3 separate regions of the Homo sapiens genome follow, and regions 1 and 3 are each linked to region 2. Evidence: promoter capture Hi-C in human tissues and cell types (Jung and others, 2019). All regions are on one chromosome and are shown on one strand. Each heading gives the region's core, a stretch centred on a gene start or on the middle of the fragment in contact. The rest is flanking DNA. Distances are from core to core; before and after follow the strand shown. Region 1 holds the start of ILF3 (interleukin enhancer binding factor 3). Region 2 holds the start of S1PR2 (sphingosine-1-phosphate receptor 2). Region 3 has its middle 19 kb from the start of SLC44A2.

Region 1 (3,096 bases), core at 439-2,938, 420 kb before region 2:
TGAACTAAAGAATATTCCAGACAACACTGGGGCCTGCAGACTCCATTCACAAATCCCAGGGACCAAGAGCCACCCACATAAGCAAGGGGCCCCAGCACCACGGAACAGGGAGAGGAGCACCTGCCAATGTCCTGCGGCCTCCTCCTGCTTTCCAGCTGTGAATGAGGCCCTGGTTCCCACACTTCATTCACAGTCTGGGCGGCTACTGTAACTACATCCCACGAGACCACACACAAAGCATCACGCACAAGGGACAGTGGCAGCACTCTGAGCAATCCATGGAGATTCCCATCCACAAATACCTGAGGAAAAGAGAGCTTAAAGTCCTAAATTTGAATCCTAACTTCGGATGGCACCTCGCGATTCCATGTGGACCACAAATATGCCATCACACCACTCATTTTAAAGAGAGCAAAATCTTGAAAAAGATTCAGCAGCAGTGAATTACCGGAGTCCAGAAAAAGAAACCACTGAAACCGACGCTTCGTTGCTGATCCATGTCACCTAAGCAGCAACTGGCAAACAATGTTGGAAATGTGGAGAAGAGATCCCTCATTCTCCTCAAATTTGGCCACTGAACTGGGGGAGGAGCATGCAGACCGCCGTACACCCCAAATAATTCATCCAGGCGGTGAATTAACTGGGGCAGAACCTCATGAGTAACCTCGAGAATCTCAATCGTTCAACTACTTGAGAAAATAAAGGTAGAAATGGGTTTTAAGCATCCACGTTTCGGGGCCCAGGCTTGCACCCAAGTAGATTGCCGGTCTAGAGAAGGCAAATACTAACAATCTGGAAAAACATTCAACAATGAAAACAAACTAACTAAAGAAAAAGCTGAAACCCTCTCAAGTTTTGACCCTGATCTGAGAGAGGCCTGGCTGACCAGAGATTTGGAAACCCGACGAACCCACAAAGGCTTCCTCAGCAATCCGCGTGGGAAGGGGCTTCCAAGGAGGGGGTCCGCCTCTCCGCGACCTGTGAGGACAAAGGAGGCGACTTTTCCCGCCTCGGGAACCTGGGACTCTCCTGGAATCGGGGGCGGGACCGGGACAAAGAGGAGGAGGGGGTAGGGAAGGAGTGAGGAAGGGGGGTCGCCCCGCCGCGGAACTCGGGACCCGAGGGGGTGTGTGCTCCAAGCACGTGCGCGCGTCCCCAGGACCCCCGCAACAGACAAAAGCCCAGCCGCGGGGAGGCGGCAGCCGGGGGCCCGGTGCGCGCGCACCCCCCCGCGCGTGGCGCCGCCGCCGGCCGAGGGGCCGCGTGCGGGGGGGAGCGGCTGCGCGCGCACCGAGTCCTCGCCGCCGCCGCAGCCGCCATTTTGTTTCCTCCGCACAATGGAAGAGAGTTAACGGCCGAGCGCGGGAGCGAGGCCGGCAAGGGAGGAACGGGCCAGGCGCCGGGATGAGGGAACCGGGCGGAGGCGGCGAGCGTGGGATCCCTCCAGCCTTGTCACCGCGAACCCTCAGTGGGGATCTCACTGAGGGCGGGCGGGGGGAGGGGCAGAGGCGGGAGCGGGCCCGGCCGCCGCCACATTGACGCTTACCTTGTCGGCGTCCCCTTCTTCGACCGCAGCCGCCGCCGCCGCCCTCCTGCCACAGCCCGCCGGGGTCTGCCCCCAAAAGCCACGCGGTGCGCGCCGGGCTGCTGGGTCCAACTGCAATGGCGAGAAGAGGAGGAGGAGGAGTCCGGACCGGGGGCGAGCGGGCGGGCGGGCAGGCGCGCGCCGGGGAGGTGCGGGAACACGTGACCGGCTGAAGCCCCGCCCCCTTTGACGCCGCGTTGCGCCTCGACGCAGGCCCAACCCAAATGGGAGGGAGGGGCGAAAAGAGATAAGGGGGGGGCTGAGGGGGTGGGCGTGAGTTGCACGTGGTGCAAGCGGGAGTGTTTGCGTGCGTAGTCACGTGACTTCGGCACCTTTCCCTCCGCTTTCGATAGGTTGCTCCATCATGTGACAATGGCGAATTTCGCGGTTTCCTTCGCCATCTGACAACTTTTGGCGCCTTCCCTTTGCCGTACTGGGAGTCCTCCATCACGTGACGAGGGCACGCTCTGGTTTTCGCTAAGGCGTTTTTTGAGCGGCCATTACCACGTGATGCAAGGCAAGCGTCAGAGGCGGAGCCTCCCTACGGCTGCGACATTTTGCGCCTGCGCGGCCGCCATCTTACGCCCGTCGCCCTGAGTACGTTAGCGGAAATGGCTCCGAGAGGCTTTGACGCATGTGTACCTTTTTAGTGGCGGTATCTCGGCCGGGGATTTTCGGGCTCCAGTGGAGGTGGCTATGCTCACCCCATCTCCCTTGAGAGGCACAGAAGGTTAGAGATGTGTGCGAGGAACGGCCAGGTCCAGCGTCTCCTCGTTGCTGCCCCTTGAGCCCGGGACCGGCGCCAATGCGCGCCCGGGTTCTTGGGTTCTTTCGTCCCGCAGACCTGCCTTGGTGTGGCGTCCCTGGGCCGTAGCTTCCGAAGGCTGCAGCCGACCTGGTCGGGGTCCTCTAGCCCGCCTTCCCCTTCCCCCATTGACAGATGGAGAAACTGAGGCCCAGGCCAAAAAATATCTCACTAGAGGGCTCACCGCCATTTCCTGGAAAAATTGGGGCTGGGACTCAACGGACGCTCGTCCAGCAGCAGCGCGGAGCTCCGAAGTAAAGGCGCCCGTGACCGAGTGCTTTGTCCTTACAAGCGTGGTGTTCTTGAATGCTTCCAGGCGCCTTATGAGGCCCCCGATGTACAATCTGTGCTTAACTAAACCCCACTGTCTTCCAGGGTCAGGTTGGCCATCCGCAGGCGTAGTTGCTAGGAAGGTTTGACAGATGTCCGCCTGTTGATTCAGACGTTCCCAGGATTTGGAGCAAGAAGAGCAAGGAAGGCCAGGCGCGGTGGCTCACGTTTGTAATCCCAGCACTTTGGGAGGCCGAGGCGGGCGGATCACGAGGTCAGGAGTTCGAGACCAGCCTGGCCAGCATGGTGAAACCCCGTCTCTACTAAAAATACAAAAGAAAATTAGCCGGGTGTGGTGGCACATGCCTGTAGTCCCACCTACTTGGGAGGCTGAGGCAGGAGAATTGTTTGACCTGGCAGGCGGAGGTTGCAGTGA
Region 2 (3,201 bases), core at 560-3,059:
ATAAGATCCACTGGGTTGGCCAGGCACGGTTGTTCATGCCTGTAATCCCAGCACTTTGGGAGGCCAAGGCGGGCAGATCATGAGGTCAGGAGATCGAAACCATCCTGGCCAACATGGTGAAACCTCCATCTCTACTAAAACTACAAAAATTAGCTGGGCATGGTGGCGCATGCCTGTAATCCCAGCTACTCAGGAGGCTGAGGCAGAAGAATCGCTTGAACCCGGGAGGCAGAGGTTGCAGTGAGCCGAGATAGTGCCACTACATTCCAGCCTGGCGACAGAGCTAGACTCTGTCTCAAAAAAAAAAAAAAATCCATCTGGTCAAGGAGTTTTTCCTTTTTGTTGCTGTTGTTGTTGTTCACTGCTGTGCCCAGTAGGTGCATAAAAAATATTTGTTGCCAGGTGCTGTGGTTTACATTTGTAATCCCAGCACTTGGGGAGGCCGAGGCAGGCGGATCACTTGAGGTCACGAGTTCGAGACCAGCCTGGCCAACATGGTGAAACCCTGTCTTTACTAAAAATACAAAAAAATCAGCCAGGCGTGGTGGCACGCGCCTGTATTTCCAGCTACTTGTGAAGCTGAGGCACAGGAATAGCTTGAACCTGGGAGGCAGAGGTTGCAGTGAGCTGAGATGGCACCACTGCACCCCAGCCTGGGAGATAAAGGAAGACTCTGTCTCAAACAAAAAAATTTTGTTGCTGGAATGAGGGGCTTTCCTATCCTGTTGTCGAACTGCTGGTTACACACACACACACACACACACACACACACACACACACACACATCATTCGATGAAGGTGTAGTGTCCATCATTTCCGCAGGCAGGCACACAGAAATGCCCAGGAATTAGTGAAAATTGGAAATCTGGATAGAAGACTGGGCCCGACGCTGGAAGGCAGGCACAAACTGGGCCCCGCCAGAGGGGACAGTGATCTACAGAGGCAGGAAAGAGTGTGGAGTGTCCCCAGTCCCCCAAGGGAAACAGGGCAGCACCTGAATTCTGGAGGTCCTATCAAGGGAGAGACTGGTCAGGCACAGTGGCTCACGCCTGTCATTCCAGCACTTTGGGAGGCTGAGGCAGTAGGATTGCTTGAATGCAGCAGTTCAAGACCAGCCTGGGCAACACAGCGAGACCCCATCTCTACAAAAAACTGCAAAAAATTAGCCAGGCATGATGGCGCACCTGTAGTCCCAGCTACTCTGGAGGCTGAGGCAGGAGGCTGAGGCTCCCGTGAGCTATGATTGAGCCACCACACTCTGGCCTGGATGACAGAGCAAGACCATGTCTCAAAAAAAGAAAAAAAAAAAGAGATCAATTTTGTCTTTGGGACAGGACATCGCACTTAGTAGGAATTTATTTGTTGGGTGGACACACAGTAGGCACTTAATGCCTATTTGCTGCGTTGACACCTAGTAGGTACTTCCAAGGCTCTTTGTTGAGTCAATAAATGTGACCTCGTGTTTTCTTCCAAGTCCAGGGTCCCAGGGGTAAGCCCAGAGGTAACCTGGGGTTGAAGACAGTTGTTTCAGGTTGAGGCCACCTGGCCAGGAGTACTGTGACGTCACCAGGCTGCGTGACGTTTCGCGCCGGCCGGTTCTCACGGGTGGGGGCTGGGAGGGGCAGAGTGAGAGATCGGGTGGGGGGGGCGGACAAAGGGCCCTCCGTGCAGCTCCTGTCGGCCCCCGCGTGCGCCCCGGCCAGCCGGCCGGTCACATCTGGAATTCATTGCAGCCGCCGCCGGAAAGGGGAGGAGAGGAGGGCGGGGCGAGCGGGGGGCAGAGGCGGCGGCTCTCCGCCCCCCCCTCTGTCCCTCGTCCCAGCCCCGGGACTTAGCCGAGCCCGGCTGGCAACCCCAGCCCCAGCCGCGGCCGCCCTGGGGACGCAGACGCCAAGGCCCCTCCGGCCAGGGCCGGGAGCCGGGCCGGCCTAGCCAGGTGAGCGCGCGTGGCGACAAGGAGGCAGAAAAGGCGGGCCTGGTCCCCTGAGGTCTCGGGATCCGAGCTGAGGGGCCCCAATCGGGGGGCTGGGGCGCGCACGCGCCGCCTGGGTTCCTGCTGCACGGAGCGGGTGGTCACAGTGCGCCCTCTCCAAGAATCCGGGCGGCCCCCACTGCCTCGGCCGCGAACCCGCAGACTGTGCTCCCCGCCTTTCTCAGCGGCAGGAAGTTGGCGCCGGGGAGAAGGCTGAATCCGAGCGCTTTCGACTGGAGTCTTTGGGAGGCAGGACGCCGTGCTCGGGGACCGGGGTCTTGGGGAGTGTGTTTGGGGGGGGGCAACACCCCTCCTGGCTGACTCCGGCTGAGCGAGGGCAAAAGGATGTGCGCGCCGTGGAGCCTCCAAGCCAAGGGGCGGCACCCACGGGGAGGGCGGTCGGACGTCGGGCTTTCTGCCTCGGTTTCCCCAAGTTGTTTGCCTCCTCCGGTCCCCCGGCGGGGGGCGTGGCTTTGTTTTGTAAGGAAAGAGAAAGTGACTGCGTGGCTCAGACGCCTCCTCTTTCAACTCCGGCTCAGGGATGGGTCGTGGGTGAAGGCGCGCGTGGCGCGGACCTCGCGTGGCCCCGAGCCGGGCGGAGCGTCGGAACTCGCCCCCTTCTCAGGCACGGGTTGACTCACCCGGGGATTTCCACCCCCTCCTCTGTCTCTGTCCTTGTCAGATGCTCCGGGCCCCACGCGCTGAGCCCACAGTCCCCCTCGTGGGGCGACACGGCCAGGCGCGGAACTCGCGGTGCAGCTGCTGCTGCGATCTGGTCCCCCACCCCCAGTCTTCCCAGAATCTCGAGGCGGGACCCCTGGCGGGACGGAGAGGAATCCTTCCAGTGCCGCTTGGAGACGTGGGGGCCCCGCGCGTGTGGCGGTCTCGGGGGCGGGGGGGAGAGGAGGCGTGGCTCCCGCGCGAGCGAGCGTGGATACCGCGCATTCCTAAACCAGATAAGGAGGCCGAGAGTGCGGGCCAGCACGGGGTCGGGTCCTGCTGCCATCTCCATGGAGACACGCTGGGCTTTGCCTGGTTGATGGTGGGCGATGGGGGCGCTGCCCGCGGACCAGAGGTGTCTCCAGGCTCCTTTGTTGCTGTTTGGGTCTGGGCTGAGCTTAGGAGTTTCCACCCTTGGGAACCCACTAGGGTCTCCTTTGTTCATTGGTTCATTCATTCATTCATTCATTTGCCCATTCCACACGTTTTCTGAGTGTTTTATTTGTGCC
Region 3 (3,586 bases), core at 1-2,500, 380 kb before region 2:
ACATGACAGGGCCCTGGAAATGTTCTTTTTTCCTCATCTGGTTGCTGGCCAGATAAGGTGTTCACCTTGTGAAAGCTCCTTCAGCCTCATATATTTAGGATCTATGCCCTTTTATGTATGTATTTCCAACTTCGAAAAAAAGTTTAAAATAAATATTCCCTTTGATTGGCTAAATAAAAGACAGCCCATCCACAAATGTACTATTCTATGCTACCGTGAAAAAAGATTGTGCTGGGCGCCATGGCACACACCTGTGATCAGTCCCAGCTACTCGGGAGGCTGAGGCGGGAGGATCCCTTCAACTCAGGAGTTCTAGGCTAGCCAAGGCAACATAGCAAGACCCTGTCTCTCCTTTTTTTTTTTTTTTCTTTGAGACGGAGTCTCGCTCTGTTGCCCAGGCTGGAGTGCAGTGGCGCGATCTCGGCTCACTACAACCTCCACCTCCTGGGTTCAAGCGATTCTCCTGCCTCAGCCTCCCAAGTATCTGAGACTACAGGTGCATGCCACCATGCCCAGCTAATTTTTTTATTTTTAGTAGAAACGGGGTGGCTGGGCGCAGTGGCTCACACCTGTAATCCCAGCACTTTGGGAGGCCGAGGCGGGGGCGGATCACGAGGTCAGGAGATCGAGACCACGGTGAAATCCCGTCTCTACTAAAAATACAAAAAATTAGCCGGGGGCAGTGGCAGGCACAGTGGCGGGCGCCTGTAGTCCCAGCTACTCGGGAGGCTGAGGCAGGAGAATGGCATGAACCCGGGAGGCGGTGCTTGCAGTGAGCCGAGATCACGCCACTGCACTCCAGCCTGAGCGACAGAGTGAGACTCCGTCTCAAAAAAAAAAAAATAATAATAATAATAATAAATGATTGAGGAAGCTTTGGAGGTGTTGACAAGAGATCCTCTCCAATGTATATTAGGCAAAACAAATAAACAAAAAAAAGCTGGGTGTGGTGGCCCACGCCTATAATCCTAGCACTTTGGGAGGCCAGTACAGGAGGATTGCTTTAGCCCAGGACTTCATGACCAGCCTGGGCAACATGGTGAGACCCTGCCTCTAAAAAAAAAAAAAAAAAAAAATTAGTTGAGTATCACGGCACACACCCGTAGTCTCAACTACACAGGAGGCAGAAGCAGGAGGATCACTTGAGCCCAGGAATTTGAGGCTGCGGTGAGCTATGATCGCACCACTGCACTCTAGCCCAGCCTGGGTGACAGAGTGAGACCCTGTGTATAAACAACAACAACAACAACAAAGAATAAAGTATGGTCCGGGGTGGGAGAGCAAGAGGGAAACTTTCATCTCAAAGCCGTAACATCTTTTGTATCTTTTGTATTTAAAGCATGTGAATGTATTATCCCTTTCAAAGAAAATAGCCCCAAGAGGCCGGGCGAGGTGGCTCACGCCTGTAATCTCAGCACTTTGGGAGGCCAAGGCAGGCTGATCACAAGGTCAGGAGATCGAGACCATCCTGGCTAACATGGCGAAACCCGGTCTCTACTAAAAAATACAAAAAAATTAGCCAGGCGTGGTGGCGGGCGCCTGTAGTCCCAGCTACTCGGGAGGCTGAGGCAGGAGAATGGCGTGAACCCGGGAGGCGGAGCTTGCAGTGAGCCGAGACCGTGTCACTGCACTCCAGCCTGGGCGACAGAGCGAGACTCCGTCTCAAAAAAAAAAAAAAAAAATAGCCGTAAGTAACTACCTTTTCATACATACATACATACATACATATATATGTGTATGTGTATATATATATTTTAATATATATGTATATAATTATTTTTTGAGATGGAGTTTTGCCCTTGTTACCCAGGCTGGAGAGAAATGGCACGATCTCAGCTCACTGCAACCTCTGCCTCCTGGGTTCAAGCAATTCTCCTGTCTCAGCCTCCCACATAGCTGGGACTACAGGTGCACGTCACTATTCCAAGAACATTTTTGTATTTTTAGTAGAGACAGGGTTTCACGATATTGGTAAGGTTGGTCTCAAACTCCAGACCCCAGGTGATCCACTTGCCTCGGCCTCCCAAAGTGCTGATATTAGAGGCGTGAGCCACTGTGCCCAGCCAATTTTTGTATTTTTAGTAGAGACAGGGTTTCGCCATGTTGGTCAGGCTGGTCTCGAACTCCTGACTTCAGGTGATCCACCTGCCTCGGCCTCCCAAAGTGCTGGGATTACAGGCGTGAGCCACCACACCCGGCCACATGTATATATATATATTTAAATCAGGTGCCAGGGCCTCACTGCAGGCTGAATTGTATTCTAGCAAATGGGACCAGGGAATCTGCTTTTTATTTTGAGACAGGGTCTTCCTCTGTCATCCAGGCTGGAGTGCAGTGGCGCTATCTTTGCTCACTGCAACCTCTGCCTCCTGGGCTCAAGCAATCCTCCCACCTCAGCCTCCCAAGTAGCTGGAATACAGTTGAGCACCACCATGCTCAGTTAATTTTTAAATTTTTTTGTAGAGACAGGGTCTCACTATATTGCCCAGGCTGGTCTCAAACTCATGGGCTCAAGCGATCCTCCCACCTGGGACTCCCAAAGTGCTGGAATTATAGGCATCAGCGACTGCCCAGCCAGAGTCTGGTTTTTGTTGTTTTTTGAGATGGAGTCTCGCTCCATAGCCCAGGTTGGAGTGCAGTGGCACCATCTCAGCTCACTGCAACCTCTGCCTCCCAGGTTCAATCAGTTCTCCTGTCTCAGCCTCCCAAGTAGCTGGGATTACAGATGTGCACCACCATGCTTGGCTAATTTTTATATTTTTAATAGAGACGGGGTTTCACCATGTTGGCCAGGCTGGCCTCGATCTCCTGACCTCAAGTGACCCACCCACCTCAGCCTCTCAAAGTGCTGGGATTACAGGTGTGAACCTGTAATCCTTGCCTGGCCAAGAGTCCTTTTTTTTTTTTGAGACGGAGTCTCACTCTGTCACCTAAGCTGGAGTGCAGTGGCGCCACCTTGGCTCACTGTAACCTCTGCCTCCCAGGTTGAAGCGATTCTCCGGCCTCAGCCTCCCGAGTAGCTGGGACTATAGGTACACTAATTTTTTGTATTTTTATTATTTATTTATTTATTTATTTCGAGACTGAATTTCACTCTTTTTGCCCAGGCTGGAGTGCAGTGGCACAAACTCGGCTCACCGCAACCTCTGCCTCCCAAGTTCAAGCGATTCTCCTGCCTCAGCCTCTGGAGTAGCTGGGATTACAGGCATGCACCACCATGCCTGGCTAATTTTGTATTTTTAATAGAGATGGGAATTCACCATGTTGGTCAGGCTGGTCTCGAACTCCCGACCTCAGGTGATCCACCTGCCTTGGCTCCCAAAGTGCTGGGATTACAGGCATGAACCACTGTGGCTGGCATTTTTTGTTATTTTTTGTAGAGATGGGGTTTCACTGTGGTAGCCAGGATTGTCTCGATCTCCTGACCTCGTGATCCCCCAGCCTTGGCCTCCTAAAGTGCTGGGATTACAGGTGTCAGCCACAATACCTGGCAAGAGTCCGTTTTTTAAATAAGCATCACTACTGTCCCCCCGACCCCAGTTTTATTTCTCCATGGTCAGAGTTTATTGTTTTGGATTGCAGAATC

Evidence for each region. The method cuts DNA at HindIII sites, captures the fragments that hold promoters and counts their contacts. A contact is called where the count stands out against the background at its distance.
Region 1: the fragment with the promoter of ILF3 here is called in contact with the fragment with the promoter of S1PR2 in region 2 in 1 of the 25 tissues and cell types used here (dorsolateral prefrontal cortex).
Region 3: a fragment that was not itself captured here is called in contact with the fragment with the promoter of S1PR2 in region 2 in 1 of the 25 tissues and cell types used here (liver).

What each region holds. Positions count from the first base shown.
Region 1 is chr19:10,652,938-10,656,033 of GRCh38, reverse strand. ILF3 (interleukin enhancer binding factor 3) reads right to left here and starts at 1,688. Exons shown (of 20, transcript NM_017620.3): 1 at 1,547-1,688. ILF3-DT (ILF3 divergent transcript) reads left to right here and starts at 2,162. Exons shown (of 1, transcript NR_024333.1): 1 at 2,162-3,096. RefSeq lists silencers at 1,361-1,520, 1,601-1,840 and enhancers at 1,931-2,400, 2,641-2,810, 2,676-3,096. The HindIII fragment of the contact is 14,146 bases long and covers 1-3,096 here.
Region 2 is chr19:10,229,939-10,233,139 of GRCh38, reverse strand. S1PR2 (sphingosine-1-phosphate receptor 2) reads left to right here and starts at 1,809. Exons shown (of 2, transcript NM_004230.4): 1 at 1,809-1,936. MIR4322 (microRNA 4322) reads right to left here and starts at 2,727; the gene lies at 2,655-2,727. RefSeq lists enhancers at 1,255-1,304, 2,451-3,165, 3,105-3,184 and silencers at 1,505-2,164, 2,875-2,924. The HindIII fragment of the contact is 35,191 bases long and covers 1-3,201 here.
Region 3 is chr19:10,605,008-10,608,593 of GRCh38, reverse strand. It overlaps a transcript of SLC44A2 not described here. Among named protein-coding and RNA genes, the nearest start is that of SLC44A2, 19 kb to the left of the region's middle. The HindIII fragment of the contact is 3,280 bases long and covers 1-2,890 here.